Regions from separate parts of the Homo sapiens genome. Here region 2 is linked to region 1. Evidence: promoter capture Hi-C in human tissues and cell types (Jung and others, 2019). All regions are on one chromosome and are shown on one strand. The core of a region is centred on a gene start or on the middle of the fragment in contact, and the rest is flanking DNA. Distances in the headings are between cores, read along the strand shown. Region 1 holds the start of L3MBTL4 (L3MBTL histone methyl-lysine binding protein 4). Region 2 overlaps MIR3976HG (MIR3976 host gene).

What was found. Contacts are between HindIII fragments. The study calls those that stand out against the background at their distance.
Region 2: a fragment that was not itself captured here is called in contact with the fragment with the promoter of L3MBTL4 in region 1 in 1 of the 25 tissues and cell types used here (dorsolateral prefrontal cortex).

Annotation. Positions count from the first base shown.
Region 1 is chr18:6,413,068-6,419,803 of GRCh38, forward strand. It overlaps L3MBTL4 (L3MBTL histone methyl-lysine binding protein 4), which reads right to left and starts at 1,844. Exons shown (of 19, transcript NM_001330559.2): 1 at 1,734-1,844. RefSeq lists a silencer at 1,347-1,886. The HindIII fragment of the contact is 7,728 bases long and covers 1-6,736 here.
Region 2 is chr18:5,846,825-5,853,560 of GRCh38, forward strand. The region is part of intron 4 of MIR3976HG (MIR3976 host gene); the gene reads left to right. Among named protein-coding and RNA genes, the nearest start is that of MIR3976, 9.5 kb to the left of the region's middle. The HindIII fragment of the contact is 4,810 bases long and covers 946-5,755 here.

The sequences.
Region 1 (6,736 bases), core at 594-3,093:
GAGTGAGACCCTATCTCTAAAAAATAAAAATAAAATGTTTAAAAAGTGAAAGTTAACACAGTTCCTTCACTTTCATTACCTCTGTCTTCACCAGATCACCTTCCCACCAATACCCTTTCTTTGGAAACTGAGTGAGAGCACACTGCAGAGGTTAACCAAGCTGAACATTTCTTGTGACCCCAATATTGTACAGCAAAGTGCTAAGTGATTCTGCAGTCAAGGGTTACATGCAATACATCCTCAATGTTGCCTCACATCTAAGAGCATAATTAATAGCAGTTTTATGTTCATCTTCCTTCCTACTCAACCATTACACACCAAGTCAGTGTAGTCGAATCCAATCCCTTTGGATACTCCAAGAAAAAAACCTCTCCTCTTTCAACCGTTTCTCCTAATTCTGTAGTAATATAAGGAATGCATTCCAAGTTTTTAATATTACCAAGGGCCAAAAACAACTCTACTGTACCCACCACCTGTTTGTCACCTTAACCTTTTTAGGTGGAATAGATTAGAAAACCGAAGAGCCACACTACACTTATTTCAGCCAAGGACTGAAACTGGAGCCTGCCACAAGCATCTTCTAGAACAGCTCCAACAGAAGGATCCAGGAGATGGGCCACCAGCAAGTCATAGTGGAGTCCAAACAAGTGTGAAGTGAGAGCGAGTCTTCAGCATGGGAATGGCCGAGTGGGTCGTGGTGACCAGCTGCCTTCCTCTGACTGTTAAGTACAGCAGTCTCAACAGTAACAATGACCAGGCCTTCCCTTTATTTAGTTCCACCTCGGGGCATTGGCGCATTAAGAATGTCCCTCTAAAGGCATATGTAAGATAAAGCACACTTCGCACTTTAACCAGTGACTAAGGGAGATCAAAAGCAGGGGACAATACCCACCCGGAATTTGCGACCTCGCGAAAACGCTCTCACCAATCCCGCAGGTAAGTGCGGCGCTGGCCCAGGTGTGCCCAGCTCGACTCGCGTCCACCTGGGACCAAGCGGGCCCAAGAAGGCCCGGAGAGCAGGCGAGGGCGACTGTGGCCGGCGCGCCCCCCGCAGTTCCAGGCGGTGGCAGGAGCCTGAGAGCCGCCGTCCCAGGCTGGCCAGGCGCCCGCCCGCCCTGCGCGCACTCCCTGGGCTCCCGCTCCCGAGGCTGGGCAGAACTCGCAGAGGAAGACAAGGGCAGAAAGCGGGTGGAGGGAGGCAGCGCTCGCCCGTCCGGGCACACGACACTTGTCGGCTGAGGGGGACACGCGGGCAGACGGGGGCGTTAGCCCCAGAGGAAACAAAAGCCAAATGCCCACCGCCGGGCGCTCGATGGCCGGAGGACTGCCTGGGGGCCCTCAGGAGTCCCGTCCCGTCCCGCTCCCCCGGTCCCAGGCTGCGCTGGCTCCAGGGCGCCCAGGTAGCCGCGCCTGGCACCCCGACCCTGCCCTCGCGGCTGACCGAGGCGCCGGGCTCTGCGGCGGCCGCGCCCGTCCAAAGTAGGCGACAAGTGAGGCAGCGCCTCTCGCGGGGAGCCCGGCGCGCGCCCCGGCGGCGAAAGAGAAAGAGAAAGAGCCTGGGCCGGGACCGGGGCTATCCCCAACCGCCACCGCCCCCACCGGCCCGGCCCTCGCCGCGGGAGTCGTGCAGGCCCCTCTACCTGCCCGGGGATGGGGCCACCCCGCGCGGCGGCGGCCGTGGGCACCCACGCGGGCTCGCGACCATCCCACGCGGGCGGCGGCGTCCTTCTTACCCCCAGCGGAGCGGCGCCTGCCCGCAACGCCGACCGAGCTACAGGCGGGGGGCGAGTCGGAGCGCGAGGTTCCGCCAGCCCAGGCTGCGGCGCCGCTGCCCCGCGGTGCCCGGCGGGAGGGGCGCGAGGGTGCACGCGCGGGGTGGGGGCGCGGGAGCCGCCCCCTGCCCGCCCCGCGCGCATGCTCCCGCCGCACCTGCCTCGCTCAGTGTTCCACACCCCGGGGAGCCGGGTGGCGCTGGGCCCGCCGAGGTCGGGGCTTTCCCATGGGAGGGAGGTGGCTGCGGCGGAATTTTCAGATGCGTCCTTCTCTGTATTCGTTCCCTGGGAAGGATTCCCCCAAATCTTGGCTACTTCCTGCCTGCCAGCTTGCTCCCTGGCAGCGAAGTCCCAGTAGCTCACCCATGCTTCATCCCAGCTCTTGGGGTTCACCGTCTGAAGGCTCTCTCCTCCGGATCCCTCTCGGTCCTGCTGCTCGCTCCGATTTTGCAACCTCCCCCACTCCCCTTTCCTGCTCTTGACTTTGCTACTCACGAGTACCTGGATACCATTTCCAAATAAAAGAATACTCTTTCCAAGTGGCAAGCAGTGTTTACTGACCCTGTTCTAACTGCTTGGAATTGAGCAGGAAACAGGAGCTGGGTAGATCCTGCCCTCATGGAACTTATGGCCTTACTGGCTAGCTTTGGCCTTTCTCAAAGCATTGTCTCCCAGTTTGGGAGGACTGTATTAAATCATTTATTTTGGCTTACAAATAAAGGTAGCTGATAATTGAAGACTATATGTTGTGACTTTTGAATGAAATGTTCTTTCATAGGACGCCTTGTGTATAAACCCTAGTATGCAAATAATAAATAGTAGGTACTAAATAAGTATTAGTTTGTTGCTTTCAGCAGGAAATTGAATCATTTAGCAGGATTAACAATGATACCATCCAAAATGATCTTTTTGGTTTGTCGTGGGCTACCATAAACAGAGAATGAAAACTTGCTTTTTAGGTGAGACTGGGCATTGTTGAAACATAATTTCGTGTCCTTACTGAAAAGAGAAATATAAACCCCTTTGCTAATGAAGTTTTTAAACTAGGAACAATGATCATAGAAATTTGTAAGTGCAAACACACGATTTGTGTTCTGTGCTCTAGTCAGTTAAGAAAAATATATTAGCCAGGTATGGCGGCTCACATCTGTAATCCCAGCACTTTGGGAGGCCGAAGAGGGCGGATCACTTGAGGTCAGGAGTTCGAGACCAGCCTGGCCAACATGGTGAAACCCTGTCTCTACTAAAAATACGAAATTAGCTGGGTGTGGTGGCGGGCGCCTGTAATCTCAACTACTCGGGAGGCTGAGACACTAGAATCGCTTGAACCTGGGAGGCAGAGGCTCCAGTGAGCTGAGATAGTACCACTGCACTCCAGCCTGGGCAACAGAGCGAAACTCCAACTCAAAAAAAAAAAAAAGAAGAAGAAAAAGAAAAACAAAAAGAAAAAGATATTAGAGACAAAGAGAAAAAGAAAGAAGTAGAAGACCTCAGTAGCGAGAGGAAAACATTTGAAACTCAGTTCCAACCAATTTTAACATTGTGCTAAGGACTTACAGTGTTGCATTACTGTGACAATGGGCATGCCTGCAGGTACCACCTTTGGTTGGATACTTGTTCACCAGATTGGATGAAATTAGAACGGGACTCAGCAGGTGAGAGTTCCACCTCCCTGCTACTCACAGGAACACGGATACCATTTTTGGTGAAGGATAAAGTGCTTCAATTATTGCAGTGTATCCCCAGTCCATCCCAGAGGTATTTATTTATCATTGGAGATTCTAGGTATTAGTAATAGAGATATCAAAATGTCCCCAGCACAGAAAGAGTTAAGTGCACTTCTGGTTCCAGGAGCCCTTCAGAAAAGTGAATATTGATGTTATAATATATGAAATCAAAGAAGAAAGCTGGATTGAAATCCAAATAAAGTGAATTTACATCAGCTTATCTTCACTTCTTGGGGGGAAACAATTGTTTTTATAACATGTTTATTGACTATATTTGGTTTAAGTTTATGAAAGCAGACACACTGTTTTCAGGGGCTGGGTTTACATAAGGAAAAGGATACACCAATGAAACAAGTTGAAACAGGCAGGAAACCTCATCTACAGCTACTTAAATGTAAGTGCATAGGTGCATAGTGCTGACAACATATGATTCTGTTCAGAGAAGCTGACATCTGTCTTAAACTACACTGTTATTCAAATTTTATGGAAATATAAGCAGGAACGCATTAGTACACTTCTTACAAAATTTTTGAAAGCTGTTGTAGTAAATCCCTTTTATCTGAACGGCTGCAGATTAAAATGAAATAGCCATATTGTTGATTTTTATAACTTTGCTAATGATCCATCATGAGCAAAGGGGTTTATAGCATTGGTAGTTGCTAGGCATTTTACTTTTATAATTCAGTTGAATCCAACCAACTCTCAATGCAAAGTTGACCAGATAGACAAGGATGGTTTATTGTTAAGATAGAAATTTCTGATGGCATGATACAGAGAACCCCTTTCTGGAGGTCATCAAAACATAACAGGCACAGCAGTCCTATAATGTGTCCATCTATTGTCAATGAAAATGAAACTTTCCACCTGCTAAGATAGTGACTGGTTTTATCCAAGGAACTCTCCATTTTAAAAACTTCGCTAAACTTGTTTACATTTTTCTGGCTGGTTGTGTATGTTTCTTTTCTTTACTTTTCTTTTTTGAGACAGGATCTTGCTCTGTCACCCAGGCTAGAGTGCAGTGGTATGATCATGGCTCACTGTAGCCCCCACCTCCCAAGCTCAACTGATCCTCCCACCTCAGCCTCCAGAGAAGCTGGGACCACAGGCATGTGCCACCACTTCTGGCTAATTTTTTAAATTTTTTTGTAGCGATGGAGGTCTCACTGTATTGCCTAGGCTGGTCTCAAATTGCTGGGGTCAAGCAATCCTCCCCGCTTAACCTCCCAAAGTGCTGGCATTACAGTCATGAGCCACAAGGCCTGGCCTATATTTCTTTTCTAAGTAGGATTAAATTACATTGCTTTATTATTTGATCAATAGCAGGATTGGCTCTTGGTAGCAGTGTGGGTTTTTTCTGTGTTTTTTTGAGACAAGGTCTCGCTTTATCACCCAGGCTGGAGTGCACTGGTGCCACCACAGCTCACTGCAGCCTTGACCTCTGGGCTCAGGTGATCCTCCTGCCTCAGCCTCCTGGGTAGCTGGGACCACAGGTGTACAGCACTATGCCTGGCTAATTTTTAAACTATTTGTAGAGATGGGGTTTAATATGTTTTTAAGACTTGAGATTGTTTCTTAGCATATATTTTGAATATGACCATTTGGGAGAATTTAACACAGAGTGAATTTCTTTATATGCTTTGGTATAACTGAGGAGAAGTTATCTTAACAGAATTCTATACTTGCTTGGACAAGCAAATTTTCCACAGCAACCAAAAATATTTCATTAGTCACTATCTTCAACAACTATTATCATCAAGTTTATTTTCATGTTAATGCCACTGTTAATAATTTTCTATGTTACAGTTGTGTTTTCCTACATGGATGGTCCAATATTAAGCTTCCTTTAGTGGGTCGAGGTATAAATAATTGCATAGCATACTATTTAAATGTAAATACTGGTTCAGAAAGAAGTGTAAATTATATTGAATAATTAAAAATAATTTTATTTATTTATTTACTTTGGTAGAGATAGAGTCTTACTGTTTTGCCCAGGCTGGTCTTGAAATCCTGGCCTCAAGCCACCCTCCGGCCTTGGCCTCCCAAAGTATTGAGATTACAGACATGAGCCACCATGCCCAGTCTAAAACCAATTTTAAATAAATGATATCATAAAGCTTTATAAATAAGATAATATGCACATTATGTGATTTTGAACAAATGACTTAAAATCTATATAGAAATCTACTTACTTGTACATTTGTGCTTTCTTTTAGTTGAACAAAGTTATCAAAAAGTAGCTTAAAAATACTCCCTTCAGGTCTACTTCCTTGAATTTTTAAAAATCCAACATAGACATAATTTTTCTGATGATGCTTAGAGTCTGTATAAACTGAACAAGATAAGAATCCTCTTGTCAATAAAAAAAAAAAAAGCTTCACTTCCCACTACAACCAATACCGAATAAGCTAATGGCATTTAAAGAAAGGCATGAAAACTCCAGAAGGAAAAATAGCAGTCTCTTTAATCCTATTTTCATAGTTATTGATGGTACAACCATGCTATCTCAAAGTCAAAGATCTGGAAGAAGAAAACCTGAAAATTTGATGATGGGAATTCTTGAATAGCAATATGCCCCCATTAACTGTAGCTAGACACAAATTCTCTTAAAAATAGCAGGTAGTATAATACAGACATACCTCGGAAATATTACCAGTCTGGTTCCAGACCACCACAATAAAATGAATATAGCATGAAGGAAATCACACAAATTTTTTGGTTTCCCAATACATATAAAAGTGGAGTTTAATAGGCATGGGCAAGGACTTCATGTCTAAAACACCAAAAGCAATGGCAACAAAAGACAAAATTGACAAATGGGATCTAATTAAACTAAAGAGCTTCTGCACAGCAAAAGAAACTACCACCAGAGTGAACAGGCAACCTACAAAATGGGAGAAAATTTTCGCAACCTACTTATCTGACAAACGGCTAATATCCAGAATCTACAATGAACTCCAACAAATTTACAAGAAAAAAACAAACAACCCCATCAAAAAGTGGGCAAAGGACATGAACAGACACTTCTCAAAAGAAGACATTTATGCAGCCAAAAAACACATGAAAAAATGCTCATCATCACTGGCCATCAGAGAAATGCAAATCAAAACCACAATGAGATACCATCTCACACCAGTTAGAATGGCAATCATTAAAAAGTCAGGAAACAACAGGTGCTGGAGAGGATGTGGAGAAATAGGAACACTTTTACACTGTTGGTGGGACTGTAAACTAGTTCAA
Region 2 (6,736 bases), core at 2,101-4,600, 560 kb before region 1:
CTGTGTCAGACTTCTGACCTGCAGACTGTTAGATGATACATTTATCTTGTTCTGAGCCAATAAGTCTGTGGTCTTTTATCACTGCAGAAACAGGAAATGGATGTACTCCCCCTAAACATTCAGTAAAGACCTGGGGGAAAGAGTTGCAGGTGGGAAAAGTTGCTTTGTGCCTAGGCCTATGGAATTCTGACTGTGTGAAGCAGACTACCTCTGGGTATTAAAAGCTCATTAAGAGTTGGGCTGGTGGTGTTGGGATGAATTGTGTCCTCACAAAATTAATATGTTGAATCCCTAATCCCAGCATCTCAGAGATTAACTCTATTTAAAGATAAGATCTTTACAGAGGTAATTATGGTAGACAGGACCATATCCAATAAGACTGGTGTCCTTCTAAGAACAGGGCATTAAGGCACAGACACAGAGGGAAGACCTTGTGGAGGCTTGGAGGAAGACAGCCATCTACTATCCAAAGACAGAGACATCAGGATGTAACCAACCCTACAACACCTTGATCTGGGACTTCCACCCAGCCTGTGGTGCTGGTCATGCCAGCCTGAGCAGACTGTCACAGCCGGCTTTTCCTGACTCCCCTTTACAGAGGGCTCCTACCCTTCCTGCCACTCCACAGGTAAGAAAGAAGTCATGGGTCTCTCATCTCCCGGCAAGGGCTCGTCACTTTCTGAAATTCAACTAATTTAAGCTTCTTTGCATTATTAGCTCTCTATTAGTTTAAAAAAACAAAAATCACAATTATTCAGCTTATTTTGGTGGAAGTCTCCAAGCACTAGTGTTTCTAAAAAGTGTTCTTCCACAGCCAAAATGAAAATCCCCTTGGCTAAGATGTCCTAGTTTACAGGCTTGGCATATTTTATAAAAAAATTGAGGTACCAAACAACCTTCAGAAGAACATCAAGTCACAGTCTCCCATCCCAAAACACACACACACACACACACACACACACACACACACACACTCCTTTCACCTCATAGTCTTGAGACAAATGCTCTTTGACCTGTGGAATAGGTCATTTTGACCCTGTTTTTGGCCACCAGTGAACATACAAGTTTGTGTTGGTTTTTTACCCCCCAATAATGACCTTCCTTCCTTCCTTCCTTCTTTTCTTTCCTTCTTCACTAGTGTGACCCAACAGACATGTAATAGAATGCCAAACTACACTGTAGGGCATAAGCTTCTGGAAAGTAGTGGCAGTTATGTGACAAGAAAGATTGCCAGCCCAAATCTCAAACCTTTATGGAAGTTCCTAATGATGGTACACCATGTAGTGGTATTTGAACAGTTTTCCTGGACTAATAGCTAATAATTCTTACATTTCTATTTCATATTACCTTTATAAGTATCAAGACATTCAAAATATTTTTATGCCATCTGCTACCTCTTTTGTGCTAAGCTTTTTAAAAAATTTATCTAACACTTAACAATTGACTTTCTTTTTATAGGTATTCAGTGCATTAAATTTTTTCTTTAGAAATATCTTTGAGATATTTTTAGATACTTCTCCTAGGGCCTTTCACCCTCCAAAGATAGAAGACAATTTTCTCATAATTCTATAATGCAGTGAATTTTATAGATGTATGTATACATGTTTAATAATTAAATTGCTGCTCAGTTTCTCACTGTTTAAGGGAGAGGGCTGACCATGTTCAGAAGCCTAGAATCCTCACTCTGTCAATGATTATAGTTACCAGTAAGACTAACAGACTCAGTTCCCACATTGAGTGAGTGGCAAAGAGCAAAGTATTCAGGCATTGAAGAGATATTGAGATCACTGAGCTAGAGATCACTTAAAGTACGTTGTTCTGTACAAACGCCTGTGGTCAGATCAATCTTCAGAGACCGAGTTCTTAGCTTTGCATGTCCTGTGCTGCTTCTCATTCTTGAGGCATTTTCTGAACTGTCACAGACTTACCAGACCCCCAAAGCATGCAAAGGTGTCATTTACAGTGAGCCCTATAACTTCCAGGTGGACCACAACATCAATGTGTGTATGCCAGGACATATTGTCCCAGTGGGAAGTCTACAAGGGAAGTCAAATGATTCTCAGAAGGTGGTTTTGGCAAGCAGGAATCAGAGCAGCAGCATATCTTAGCAATCCAGCAATTCAGCTGTGATAGTCCAGTGTGGCAGCTTCCACCATCTACCCACCACAGGGATCAGAAATGGTACAGCTGCTTGTTAAGACCCTCGTCACTGTTGGAAAGAAACTGAAATCCTTGCTGTTTCACCTCCTTCTCCTTCTTAAATTGTTTTAAATATCCCAAGATGACTTTCGATGTCCTGTTGGTTGTATGCTAGGATATAATATATTGGTCCTACATTTCTCTATAAAATTTCAGTTACTTTACCTAAGAGTTTGCCAATCTCTTCTACCAAGCACTCAAAATGTCTTGGGTTACTTCTAAGAAGGCTAACCACTTTTTTTAGGTGTTAATTTCCCTAGTTCTACTTCAATAGGTTACCTATTGAAGTATTTGGAGTAAAAGAGACTATCACAGTCACCTGGTGGCCTCCATAAAAATATTTATTATGTAATTAAATAAAGTACTAGTGGCTAAGAACTATTGAGCCTTTACTACTACATGCCAGATACAGAACTATACGTTTCATATCTAGTATCTCATTTAACCCTCATAACAAACCTAGGAGGCACAGGAACTATTATTATCCTCCATTTTATAGATGCAGAAACAGGTAAGCAAAGTCAGGTCACCCATTGTTTTAACTGCTCTAAGATATTGTCTCCACCAACCATAATGGGCATGATTGATTCCATTAGCCCTAAACTACAAAGTCAGACACTAGTTTAAGTGGTAGATATGATACAGTATGAATGATTGTTTAAAATGTAATTCCTTTATAAGGCAAGGATTTGGGTTGGACCTAACACTTCTATTTCAGAACTAACCATGTTATATCAAATTTGTATCGCATGAGATTTTATATTTCAAGGGCATGATTTAGCTCATGGTACATCCAACTGCATGAAGTAAGGAAACTTGCTATAATAGAATGCCATGGTATGTATTAACATGTCCATCGGAAAAGCTTCCTCAGAACTACAAATGTATGACTCCCATGCTTAATGGGGATCAGGCTGAACACTGTAACAAGCTGCCAGATAATCTGGTGCATACTTGGAGCATAGGGACTCTGCTTCCAGGAAATGCATAAAACTCAAGTATAGACAGGTCATCGATGAGGGTGTGTTCGGAAGGCTTGTGGCCAAGAACCATGACATTAACATAACCCATTAGAGACTTTTCCTTCTTTTATCACTCAGATTGTATGCATCAGATCAGTGGTTTTAAAAGCAGTTTGCCACTAACAGCAATACATCACAAGTTTTCACAGGTTTCTGATTTCTTATAAAATAAAAAATAACGTCATTGGAAACATCTCTGTTAGAATATTTGACTAATGAGTCCTGTGTTCGGGCCTCACGTTTTGCTGGGAAGATGTCCACAGTCTGTGGTCATGAGCTACATCCTAGCTCTTCATTTCTGGAATAAATATTTTTATATTCCTCTCTCCTTTGAAATTCTGTATTTTTGTGTCATGTTTTAATTCCTTTGACATTGCTCTTACAGTGTGGTCATTTGAAAGCTAAACAAAACCACCTGGACTTCTGGATAATCGCTCATATTTTAGTATTTTTCTTTCATTAATGTTCATATATAATGATTTTGTTTCTCAGTTGGAGGGGTAACTTTTATCTCCCAAGGGATATCTGGCAATGTCTGGGGACATTCTTGGTTGTCACAACCTGGGCGACAGGGATACTAGCAGGAGCCAGTAGATAGAAGCCAGGGTTGTTGCTAAACATCCCACGGTGACTAGAAGGACCCACGCAACCAATAACTGTCTGGCCCAAAATGTCAGTAGTGTCAAGGTTGAGAAATTTCAGCTTAAGGAAAGCACTTCTGAAAACATTAAGATTTACTTATGCTTAATTTTAGTCTGTTGACATGAAGATTTTCATCACGTTTTAATATTCTTATTAATTAAATGGTGCTTGTCTACTTTCTAATTAGCATTAAATGACTTTTCCTATATTCCAGGGCTATAGAAAGATTTTTTAAAGATCTATATGAAGAATAAGAAGTTAGTCCCTTTCGGACAAAAATCTTCAGTAAAATTGATCTGTGCCCCAGGCACACAAAGAAGCAGGAATCTGGGTATTCTCACTGTCAATATTCCATATGTCTAGCCCCTGGAAACCTAAAACAAGACCAGAGAATACCAAGGAAGGCAGATTATTTGGAAGACATGGATGCCAAAGTGCTTCTCAATCCAGTCTCAGAAGCCAGAGATGTCAGTGGGTGCTGCTGTTTTATTTCCTGTGAATCGGAGGACGATGAGAAACCAAATGAAAATATTGCCACAGTTAAGATTGAAAAGAAGGCAATTTATGAGTGAGGTGTGGATTTCAAATGAGATCTTCTCTGTTGACAGAGAGCCTTTGCTCTAAGCCAATACCTGAGCTTCTGCCAGTTTGAACAATTATAATGGAGGAAGGAGATGAGGGATTAGAAAAAACAAAGCTGACAGATGGCAATTTGTGAAGAGTTGAATCAACATAAATTATATCTCATCAGTGAGCAGAGGAAAGAGAGGATGTTTTCCAGTGTTCGGCTAACCACTGAGATGGTGAACATGCCAGAGGCACAGCAAGCAAACCACTGGGCACCCTCCAGATCTGGATGCAAGCACAGAGCTGGAGAAATACCCTTTATTGGAAAGCCATATGGATTGCAAATTGTGGATAGACATCTATTTGAAACAATACAATAAATGAACATCTGGGATTTTGGTAGGTGTCAGTCATAGACTACAGAAAACCAGAACAAAATTGCTCATAACTAAATATGATAATGCAGAAAGTATCCAAGACTCGCCAGTTCAAAACCCACATTTTTAATAGTGTATATGGTTAAGTGTAAATGTTTTTTTCTGAGGTTAGAAACAGTTCACTGAAATCATATAAAATGTTCAAGTTATCAATTTTTTTCTGTAGCCTTAAATTTTCATTCTTTGAAATTAAGTAATTAAACATTAATGTTAACTTTCCAAACTTTTGTAACTATCAAGGGAAATAGAAAAGTCAGCTTGTCAGACTCAATACATTGTAATAACATATAATATAAAATAACATAGATATGGATACACATAAAAAATTACTTTAAGTCATGATAATTATAACTTTGGGGATTAAGTAAAAAAGATCTCCAAATTCAAATATAACAAATATTAGGTTCATGTGAAATAAAAATCTTTTAGCAAGATTTCTGCGTGAAAATTTTTCATTGTATGAAAACCCTGAGTTTCTCTAGTGAACAAACTAGAACCCAGTCAGAATAACTAGACCAGCAGATGGCACTAAAAGGAAAACTAACAGTCTCAGATTTTCCTAGGGCTTAAAATTATAGAACGGGAAGATTCCAAAGTGAATATAAAATAGATTGAAATCTATATTTCTGATTATATATGTAAAGGCAAAGAAATAGATTTTGGGAAAAGCAATATAAGGCTTATGTCTACTTTTTTTTTCATTTTGAATGATCGGCTGTGGTACAAATAAGTTTTACACATCCTAAAGATTGTTTCTAGTCAACAAATATATTGTCTCAAGTTATCATTAAAATGATTATGTAGAGATATTATTATAACAGTTGTTCTACTGGGAAAAGCAGCGGGTGGTTAACGCTTGTAAGAAACGAACAGCATCGCAGTGGGTGGCCTATTGCAAGGGGCAGTTTGGGGTTCATAAAGATTTTTGTGACCCTCCTGCTTGCCCCTACCATTTGAGGATTTTGTGTAGGACAAACACTTGTAAAGGCAGAAAACAGTATTTAACATTTAATGAAGTCATCCTCCACTGACGCTTTACAGCAGATGTGCTTGACTTAGTAGAATGTTGGAAAGAAAATATAGAGACAAACACATTAAAAATTATCAGACATCCTCGTAGCCTCTCCCTGCAGGTGTCTCTGAAGGGTAATTACCTTCTGCACAAGATGGAAATAAAATGGGGAAAATGTTTTGGTACAAAAGTACAAGAAGTGATTTAACGATGGGCGGGAGTCATAAGCTCCAGATGCATTATTTTTCTTTCTGTTACTTCCAGTTTTTCCTTTTTTTCAAGATGAGTTCTACATTATATGCAGAACTTACAGAGGAACAATAAGACAGTCTTTAATAATTCATATCTGAGATGAGTGAAAATAGAAGGGTGCATCTTATTATGAAGACCTCAACTAGATTAGTTATTCCAGCACACAGGATACACTACAAAACCATCTTTATTCCCACCGAAAAGGCACATTCTTTTATTTTCTGTCTTGTAAATTTCTGATGTTGGAGGGCCTAAGATTCTCGGACAAGCACCCATTCGATTCTTAATGGTTTGCTTCCCTTTGGGGTTTAAACTTAAGATCTAGATGTAGTTTTGCCAGCCAGCAAGAGGAGAAAAGGGAGAGAAGGAGACAATAAGAAAATGAACTTGGGGATCCAAAAGGTCACTTTTTCCGTCATGCTAGATGCATATTTTGATGTGAACTGGCAGAAAGACTTGCCGCAGGAAGCCGTGTTATCAGTGGCATCAGTACCGCCTTGTTGAACAACTGAACAGTGTATGCTGCTTCCTCCAGACCAAATTCTGTCATTTGAATCTGAAATGGCAGCTGTGTCAAAACAAATTTACATTATGAAGACCTAATT